Linked DNA regions of Homo sapiens: all the other regions are linked to region 1. The links are contacts of gene promoters, found by promoter capture Hi-C in human tissues and cell types (Jung and others, 2019). All regions are on one chromosome and are shown on one strand. The core of a region is centred on a gene start or on the middle of the fragment in contact, and the rest is flanking DNA. Distances in the headings are between cores, read along the strand shown.

Region 1 (2,844 bases), core at 101-2,600:
TTTCACTGTGTTAGCCAGGATGGTCTCGATCTCCTGACCTCGTGATCCACCCGCCTCGGCCTCCCAATGTGCTGGGATTACAGGCTGAGCCACCGCGCCCGGCCTAGCCTCATTCTTTTACAATAAGATAACATGATATATGTTGATACAACACGTTTTCTTTCTTTTTTGAGATGGAGTCTGTCTCTGTCGCCCAGGCTGGCGAGCAGTGGGGCGATCTTGGCTCACTGCAAGCTCCGTCTCCTGGGTTCACGCCATTCTCCTGCCTCAGCCTCCGGAGTAGCTGGGACTACAGGCACCCGCCACGTCGGCCGGCTAAATTTTTGTAGTTTTAGTAGAGACGGGGTTTCACCGTGTTAGCCAGGATGGTCTCGATCTCCTGACCTCGTGATCCACCTGCCTTGGCCTCCCAAAGTGCTGGGATTACAGGCGTGAGCCACTGCGCCCGGCCAACACGTTTTCTTAAGATTAAACCTGTTACATAAATGATCGTTCATAATTTTTGGAAGCACACCTGCCCTTAGTATCCTGTTTTTCCACTGGGTGCTTTCTGCAGATGGCCAACGTAGCCATCACATTCGGATTCTTCCTGACTTCATTCTCAGAGGATTACTTTATCTTGAAGTGCTGAAGGCTCCAGGCACCATCTATAACGACAACTCCCAACTTTCCAGCTCATCTCCAGCCTGTGCTTCTCCCCGACTCAACTCATTTTCAACCACGTGCTAGGCCTCCACCCTTGGATGTCGAAGAGCCATCTCCAGTTCCACCCAGTTCATCTTCATCAGAACATCTATGAGTCGTCGTCTCTGCAGTCCATTTGTTTGCCCGCTTGGGAACAGCAAGCTCCTTAAGGGCAGGACTACTACCGCGCTCTCAGAGGCGCTGCACTGGAACATCGCGGGCACAGGGCAGCGTTGGTCACTGCTCCTGGGTACTAGGGCAGCAAATAAACCCAGCAGCTGCGTCTGTCTGCCTGGAGTTGGATCTTTTTGGTATAGATCCAAACGTAGAAGTATAAGGTCTACGTTTATGTACTTGTCAGATATTTAATGACCTCCAACGATAGACATGCCCCCCCAACACCTCCTTCAGTCTTTTTGATTCTTTGAGAATCTTTGAACCACGCAGGATCCTAGCCCTAGGGTGCGGTCGGACTTGCCGCGACGCCAGCCGCCGGGGTTCCTTCCCGAGGCGCCGCCATGGGATCCGCGGTGACCTACGAGGGGCGGCTGGGTGGTGGCCATTGGGCGACGGCGCAGGGTCAAGGGCCGGGCTCTGGGATCGTGGGGAGACCGGGGGTCCCGGAGCCCCCCAGCCCCGCAGGCCACTGCCTCGCCGCCCGACGTCACTTCCGACTGGAGTCAAGATGGCGGCGGCGCGGCCGCGGGCGCCGGGGCCGGCGAAACAGCGGCGGCGGCGGCGGCCCTCGGTGCTCTGAGGCGCTGGCGCGGCGGGCGCGGGTAAGGAGTGGCGCGGGTGGGCGGCCTCTGGGCTCGCGCCGGGACGCTGGTCCCTCCCCCCGAGGAGCGCGGCGGCGACGGCGGCGGCGACACGCTGGGGACCCGGCGCCGCAGGGATGGCCGGGTCGGCGGACGCGCCCCCTCAGAGGTCCCGGGCGTGCCGGGGGCCCCGGGACGAGGCGCGGGCCTCCGGGTCGGTGGCCCCGCGGGTGGGTGGCGGCGCCGGGCTCCTCCTTGTCGGCCGTGGGGTCCCTGCGGCGAAGTTCGGGATTCGGTTTGTCGCCGTGAAGAGCCGCGCGCCCCGCGGGGGACGCGTGCGGGCTGCAGAGACTGGCCGGGTGCGGGCGGCGGTGGGGCCACCTGGGGCCCCACGTGGGGCCGGGCGCCGTCCCAATTGTCAAGCCGCTGTGCTTTTCTCTTTTGTGTTCCCACTGAGTGTGTCTTGCACATTTGCACTCCAAATTTGTTTTGTGTCTTGCGTCTTTGTGTTTCCCAAATAGTTTTTGTGTGGTTTTAACCTGGAGATTGTCTCCCTCAATGTTCCCATAGACCCACGGGTGTATGTGTGTGTGTGCGCACGCGCGCGTGTGTGTGTGTTACAGACGTGCAACTCTGTTACTAATTTTGCTAATAAAGCTATCAATGAACCTCTTTTGATGGTGGTAAGTGAGACATGAAGTAAACCTAACAGGTCAGTGTCATTCCCCAAACCTTCGTGGTTCTTTCGATCCACGCGTGAGCCACCGACCCTCCGGGCTTGTAGCTTTGTGTCGGGCTGTGAGCTGCGGCAAAGACCCCATAGTTAACCGGGAAGTCCTGATTTCCTTAACTACGCAGCTGAAATTTCCCCTAACAGAAATTTCGTGCTGGCCCCTCACTTTTCTTTTAGTGTTGTATTGAGATTTTGGGTGTATTTGAGACGTGGAACGTCTTTTGCTGAATCCCAGTAGGTCCTTAGATCCCTTTAACCAGACACTAGAAGAATCATTTTTACCCCAGAACTCGACTAAAATGTTTAAGTTTTTGTTTACTCCAGGTTTATTAAAAGTGACCGAAACTTTTAACAACAAATGGAACTCTTCAATGATTTCTTTTACAATGGTACACACTTCGCCTCGGTTTGATCAGTTGTGTCCAAGTATTAGAAAAATGTAGGCCTTTTAAAAAAAAACATGATAGGAAATTTACATATATTAAGGAGGAGGAACTGAGACACACTGTCATACGTTCTTTTTTAGTAGGGTTCTGTGTTTTTGAGATGGTCCAAACTGCCCCATCACTCTTGAGGCTTCCGGACTAACACTTATTGGCCAAATTTTTACATGTAGAATCTTAGTTTAGCCTTGAGATGACCTTTAAAGATCATTTTTATTAAACCCCC
Region 2 (2,700 bases), core at 119-2,618, 210 kb after region 1:
TGCCTGACAATAAAAGAAAAAGTCTGTAAACCTACGAAAGGCTGTGTTTTTTCAGGGGCAAGAGGGTGAGGAGGGAGGTATTGATTTCTCTCTCTTAGGTAGTGAGGAGGAGAGCTCCCGTCTAGCATTGGAAGGTGGGGGAGGTTGTGAATAAGGGGGAATCTGCCTGGATATGTTCTATCTCAGCCAGGGTTTCCCCCACAAAATGGTCTTCTTGCACCCTGCTTTGCCACCCACCTGTTCCTACACCCACATTTTCTTCAGAGAATTGCAAATCAATACTGAATATTGATTTGGGCTTATTTATTAATAAGCTTGGTCTTATTTAGGATAAAATAAAATAAGACCTTTCTTTCTTGGCTGCTTCTTATGATGAAGGCCTGGTTTAAAAATGTAGCAAGACGAATTAAGCATTTATGAGGGCAGAGTCCTCCTTCTGCTAGCCTTATGGAAAGATTTGGTCTGAGTTGAACCCTGAGAATAAGGTGGGTAATCTGTAGCGGTGGAAATGTAGAAGGGAGACCAGAGGCAGCTCTAGCCCCTCTTCTTGGCTGGCTTCAGGGAATCCGCTTCAAATGTTGAGGCTCATGGAGGCCTCGTTTAAACCCAGATGATGGTGGTCAATCTCACTCCTGAGTGGAGAAGGCTGATTAGGAAGGGCCCAGATGCCACTCCCAATAGCTGGCATTTGGACTGGATACTTTCAGTGGGGTCTGGTATGGTTTAGATCTGTGTCCCCATCCAAATCTCATGTTGAATGGTAACCCGCAATGTTGGAAGTGTGGCCTGGGGGGAGGTGATTGGATCATAAAGGCAAGTTCTTATGGTTTAACACTATCCTCCTTGATGCTGCTGCGGCGATAGTGAGTTCTCATGAGATCTGATTGTTTAAAAGTATGTGACACAGGCTGGGTGTGGTGGCTGACGCCTGTAATCCCAGCACTTTGGGAGGCTGAGGTGAGTGGATCACGAGGTCAGGAGATCGAGACCATCCTGGCCAACATGGTGAAACCTCATCTCTACTAAAAATACAAAAAATTAGCTGGGTGTGGTGGTGCATGCCTGTAATCCCAGCTACCCAGGAGGTTGAGGCAGGAGAATCGTCTGAACCAGGGAGTCGGAGGTTGCAGTGAGCTGAGATCATACCACCGCACTCCAGCCTGGCAACAGAGTGAGACTCTGTCTAAAAAAAAAAAAGTGTGTGTGACACCTCCCCCACCTTGCTCCTGCTTCACCATATAAAGTTCCTGGCTCCCCATTTGCCTTCTGCCCCAATTGCAAGTTTCCTGAGGCTTCCCCAGAAGCAGAGCGGATGCTAGCATCATGCTTCCTGTACAGCCTACAGAACCGTAGCCAATTAAACTCCTTTTCTTTATAAATTACCCATTCCCAGGTTTTTTCTTTTTTATAGTAATGTGAGAACAGACTAATATAGGGCCTAACTCCCACCCAATTTCCAGGTGCTTTCCCATAATAAGAAGAGATATGTAGGTGTGTTCGGCTGTTCTTGCACTGCTATAAAGAAATACCTGAGACTGGGTAATTTATAAAGAAAAGGGGTTTTATTGGCTCACAATTCTGTAGGCTGTACAGGAAGCATGGCGTCTTCTGTTTCTGGGAAGTCCCAGAAAGCTTCCAATCATGATGGAAGACAAAGGGGAAGGAGGTGCATGACATGGGGAAGACAGGAACAAGAGAGAGATGGAGGAAATGGCACACACTTTTGTTTTGTTTCATTTTGTTTTTGAGATGGAGTCTCGCTCTGTCACCCAGGCTGGAGTGCAATGGTGCCATCTCAGCTCACTGCAACCTCCACCTCCCGGGTTCAAGCAATTCTTCTGCCTCAGCCTCCCAAGCAACTGGAGTTACAGGTGCTCACCACCACGCCTGTCTCATTTTTGTATTTATGGTAGAGACGGTGTTTCACCATGTTGGCCAGGCTGGTCTCGATTTCCTGACCTCAGGTAATTCACCTGCCTCGGCCTCCCAAAGTGCTGGGATTACAGTCATGAGTCACTGTGCCTGGCTGGTGCCACACACTTATAAACAACCAGATCTTGGAGAACCCACTCACTTTCGGGATCCTGAAGTCAGCACCAAGCCATGAGGAATTTGTCCCCATGACCCAAACACCTCTTACCAGGCCCCACCTTCAGCACTGGGGAATCACAATTCAGCATGAGATTTGGGTGAGGACAAGTATCCAAACGATATCAGGAGAAACTATTATAATCCATCATGGTTGAGTCAGAAGAAATGAGATTCTCCTGTTTTCTGATGCTGAAGGAAGACATCACGTCCTTTGAGGTCTATATAAATTGTCCCACTTTGAAAATTTTCATTTTGAAACCTGCCTCACAACATACATCACCTGGGAGGCCAGACAGAAGCATTTTGAGTTTGCTGTATAATATCATTTAATGTATTAAATCCTTAGTCCTTAAATAAAAAATGTTATAAGGCATGATGCAGCTTGGCAGAAAGGGAAGTTGTGATTGATAAGGACAGTTATCTGCTGGAAGTTGGGGTTGGGTTTGGGCCCCCAGAAGTCCCTTCTAGGTGGTTCTAAGAAGTGAAGGATGTGGGTTTGGTGTCAGATTTGCATTCTGGCTGTGCTTGGCTATTTATTGATGTGTTATTTTGGACAAGTTTCTTTTTCCCCATTACTATTGTTTTAAATCTCTCTGAACCACGGCTTTT
Region 3 (2,922 bases), core at 237-2,736, 240 kb after region 1:
AATAATAAGCCTTCAGTACTGACTAAGCATTTTACATATATTCTGTTATCCAATCTTTCCAACAAGCTGAACTGTTTTAATTCTCATTTTATGATGCAGAAAGTGATGCAAGAGACTTGTGTAAGGTGAAACAACTGGGAAGGGCAGAAACGGGGATTCAAACCCACTCAATCTGGCAACAGAGCCTGTGATCTTGACTGCTGTGCTATGCTGCCACCATCCTACTTAACAGAACGTTGGCTGTTTTCCAAGAACCTGGCCTTTGGGGATGCCATTTTATGGCTTAGAAGTGTGGGAGTGAAGAGGTTGGAGAGCTGGCCACCTATCTGCAGCTCACGGTTGGGAGGTTACATTTCCAGCAGAGAGCTTCAGCACTGGCCTATAAGCCACAAACACATGTGTAGTTGCATCTTGAATTAAGACAATCCCCGCTATAAATATTACAGTTTACAGCGTGGGGTAGTAGATGGAACATGAACTTCATAGTTTGGTTTGAATTTAGTAGCTGACAAAGTCACTACTGACTGGGCAAGCCACTTCACACCTCTGAGCCCCAGATTTCCCATTTCTAGAATGTGGATAATTACTTTTACATCCTAATGTGTGTGTGTGTGTGTGTGTGTGTGTGTGTGTGTGTGTAGAATCAGATAAATTATTTAATATATGTACATCATCAGAAAACTAGAATATATATACTAGAATATATATACTATTATATGATTTGTATATATCATTACATATCTGGTATGTGTATCTTATCCTAGTATTTATACTATATATTCTAGTTTCCTTTTTAAATTTTTATTTTTATAGATTTAGGTGGTACAAGTGCAGTTTTTTTTTTTTTTTGAGACAGAGTTTCAAGCTCTTGTTGCCCAGGCTGGGGTGCAATGGTGCGATCTCGGCACACCACAACCTCTGCCTCCCAGGTTCAAGCGATTCTCGTGCCTCAGCCTCCTGAGTACCTGGGATTACAGGCATGCACCACCATGCCTGGCTAATTTTTTTTTTGTATATTTAGTAGAGACAGAGTTTCTCCGTGTTGGTCAGGCTGGTCTCGAACTCCTGACTTCAGGTGATTCACCTGCCTTGGCCTCTCAAAGTGCTGGGATTACTGGCATGAGCCACCATGCCTGGCCTACAAGTGCAGTTTTGCTATATGGATATATTGTGTAGTGGTAAAGTCTGAGATTTTAATGTATCCATCACTTGAATAATGAACATTGTACTCAACAGGTAATTTTTCAACCCTTACCTCCCTCCCACTCTTCCACCTTTTGGAGTCTCCAAGGTCTGTTTTCCCACTGTTTATGTCCATGTGTACCCATTGTTTAGCTCTACTTAAAAGTGAGAACATGCACTATTTGACTTTCTGTTTCTGAATTATTTCACTTAGGATAATGGACTCCAGCTCTATTCTTGTTGCTGCAAAAGATATGATTTCATTCTTTTTAATGGCTGGGTAGTATTCCATGGTGTATGTATATGTGTACAGACTTAGGTTATGTCGATTTCATGACTTTGCTATTGTGAATAGGGCTGTGATGAACGTACTAGTGCAGGTGTCTTTTTATAAAGCAATTTCTTTTCCTTTGGGTAGATAGCCAGTAGTGGGATTGCTGAATCAAGCCATTACAACTGTGCAAGATGGTATCTCATTGTGATTTTAATTTGCATTTCTCTGATGATTAGTGATGTTGAGCATTTTTATGTATGTTTTTTGGCCACTTGTATATCTTCTTTTGAAAAATGTCCATTCATGTTTTTTCCCCACTTTTTTTTTCTTTTGTTTTTTTTTTTTTGAAATGGAGTCTCACTCTGTTGCCCAGGCTGGAGTGCAGTGGTGCAATCTCAGCTCACCATTACCTCTGCCTCCTGGGTTCAAGTGATTCTCCTGCCTCAGCCTCCTGAGTAGCTGGAATTACAGGCACATGCCACCACACCCGGCTAATTTTTTGTATTTTTAGTAGAGATGGGGTCACCATGTTAGTCAGGCTGGTCTTGAACTCCCGACCTCGTGATCCGCCTGCCTTGGCCACCCAAAGTGCTGGGATCACAGGCATGAGCCACCATGCCCAGCCATCCTTTGCCCACTTTTTAATGGTGTTATTTGTTGTTTTCCTTGATGAGTTGTTTGAGTTCCTTGTAGATCCTGGATATTAGTACTTTGTCAGATGCATAGTTTGCAAATATTTTCTCCCATTGCATAGGTTGTCTGTTTACTCTGTTGATTATTTCTTTTGCTATGCAGAAGCTTTTAGTTTAATTAAGTCTCATTTGTTTATTTTTGTTTTCGTTGCATTTGCTTTTGAGGACTTAGTCGTAAGTTCTTTGGCCTATACCAATGTCCAGAAGAGATTTTCCTAGGTTTTCTTCAAGGATTTTTAGAGTTTCAGGTCTTATATTTAAGTCTTTAATCCATCTTGAGTTAATTTTTGTGTATAGTGAGAGATATGGGTCCAGTTTTATTCTTTTGTAAATGGCTAACCAATTTTCCTAGCACCATTTATTGAATAGGGTGTCTTTCCTCAGTGTATATTTTTGTTGACTTTGTTAAAGATCAGCTGGTTGTAGGTATGTGGCTGTATTTCTGGGTTCTCTATTCTGTTCAATTGACCTATGTTTCTATTTTTATGCCAGTACCATGCTGTTATAAACTTGTAGTATCATTATAGTATAATTTGAAGTTAGATAATGTGATGTCTCCAGTTTTGTTATTTTTGCTTAGGAGTATTTTGGCTATTCAGACTCTTTTTTGGTTCCATGTGAATTTCAGGATTGTTTTTTCTAATTGAAATATGAAAAATGATGTTGATAATTTAATAGAAATCGCATTGAATCTGTAGATTGCTTTGGGCAGTATGGTCATTTTAAAAATATTGATTCTTCCAATCCATGAGCATGGAAGTTTTTTTCTGGTTT

What was found. Contacts are between HindIII fragments. The study calls those that stand out against the background at their distance.
Region 2: a contact is called between a fragment that was not itself captured here and the fragment with the promoter of PRDM2 in region 1, in 2 of the 25 tissues and cell types used here (liver and mesenchymal stem cells).
Region 3: a fragment that was not itself captured here is called in contact with the fragment with the promoter of PRDM2 in region 1 in 2 of the 25 tissues and cell types used here (dorsolateral prefrontal cortex and mesenchymal stem cells).

What each region holds. Positions count from the first base shown.
Region 1 is chr1:13,698,838-13,701,681 of GRCh38, forward strand. PRDM2 (PR/SET domain 2) reads left to right here and starts at 1,351. Exons shown (of 10, transcript NM_001393986.1): 1 at 1,351-1,463. RefSeq lists a silencer at 1,104-1,873. The HindIII fragment of the contact is 18,174 bases long and covers 1-2,844 here.
Region 2 is chr1:13,909,321-13,912,020 of GRCh38, forward strand. It overlaps a transcript of KAZN not described here. Among named protein-coding and RNA genes, the nearest start is that of PRDM2, 210 kb to the left of the region's middle. The HindIII fragment of the contact is 3,343 bases long and covers 1-2,700 here.
Region 3 is chr1:13,935,263-13,938,184 of GRCh38, forward strand. It overlaps a transcript of KAZN not described here. Among named protein-coding and RNA genes, the nearest start is that of PRDM2, 240 kb to the left of the region's middle. The HindIII fragment of the contact is 7,537 bases long and covers 1-2,922 here.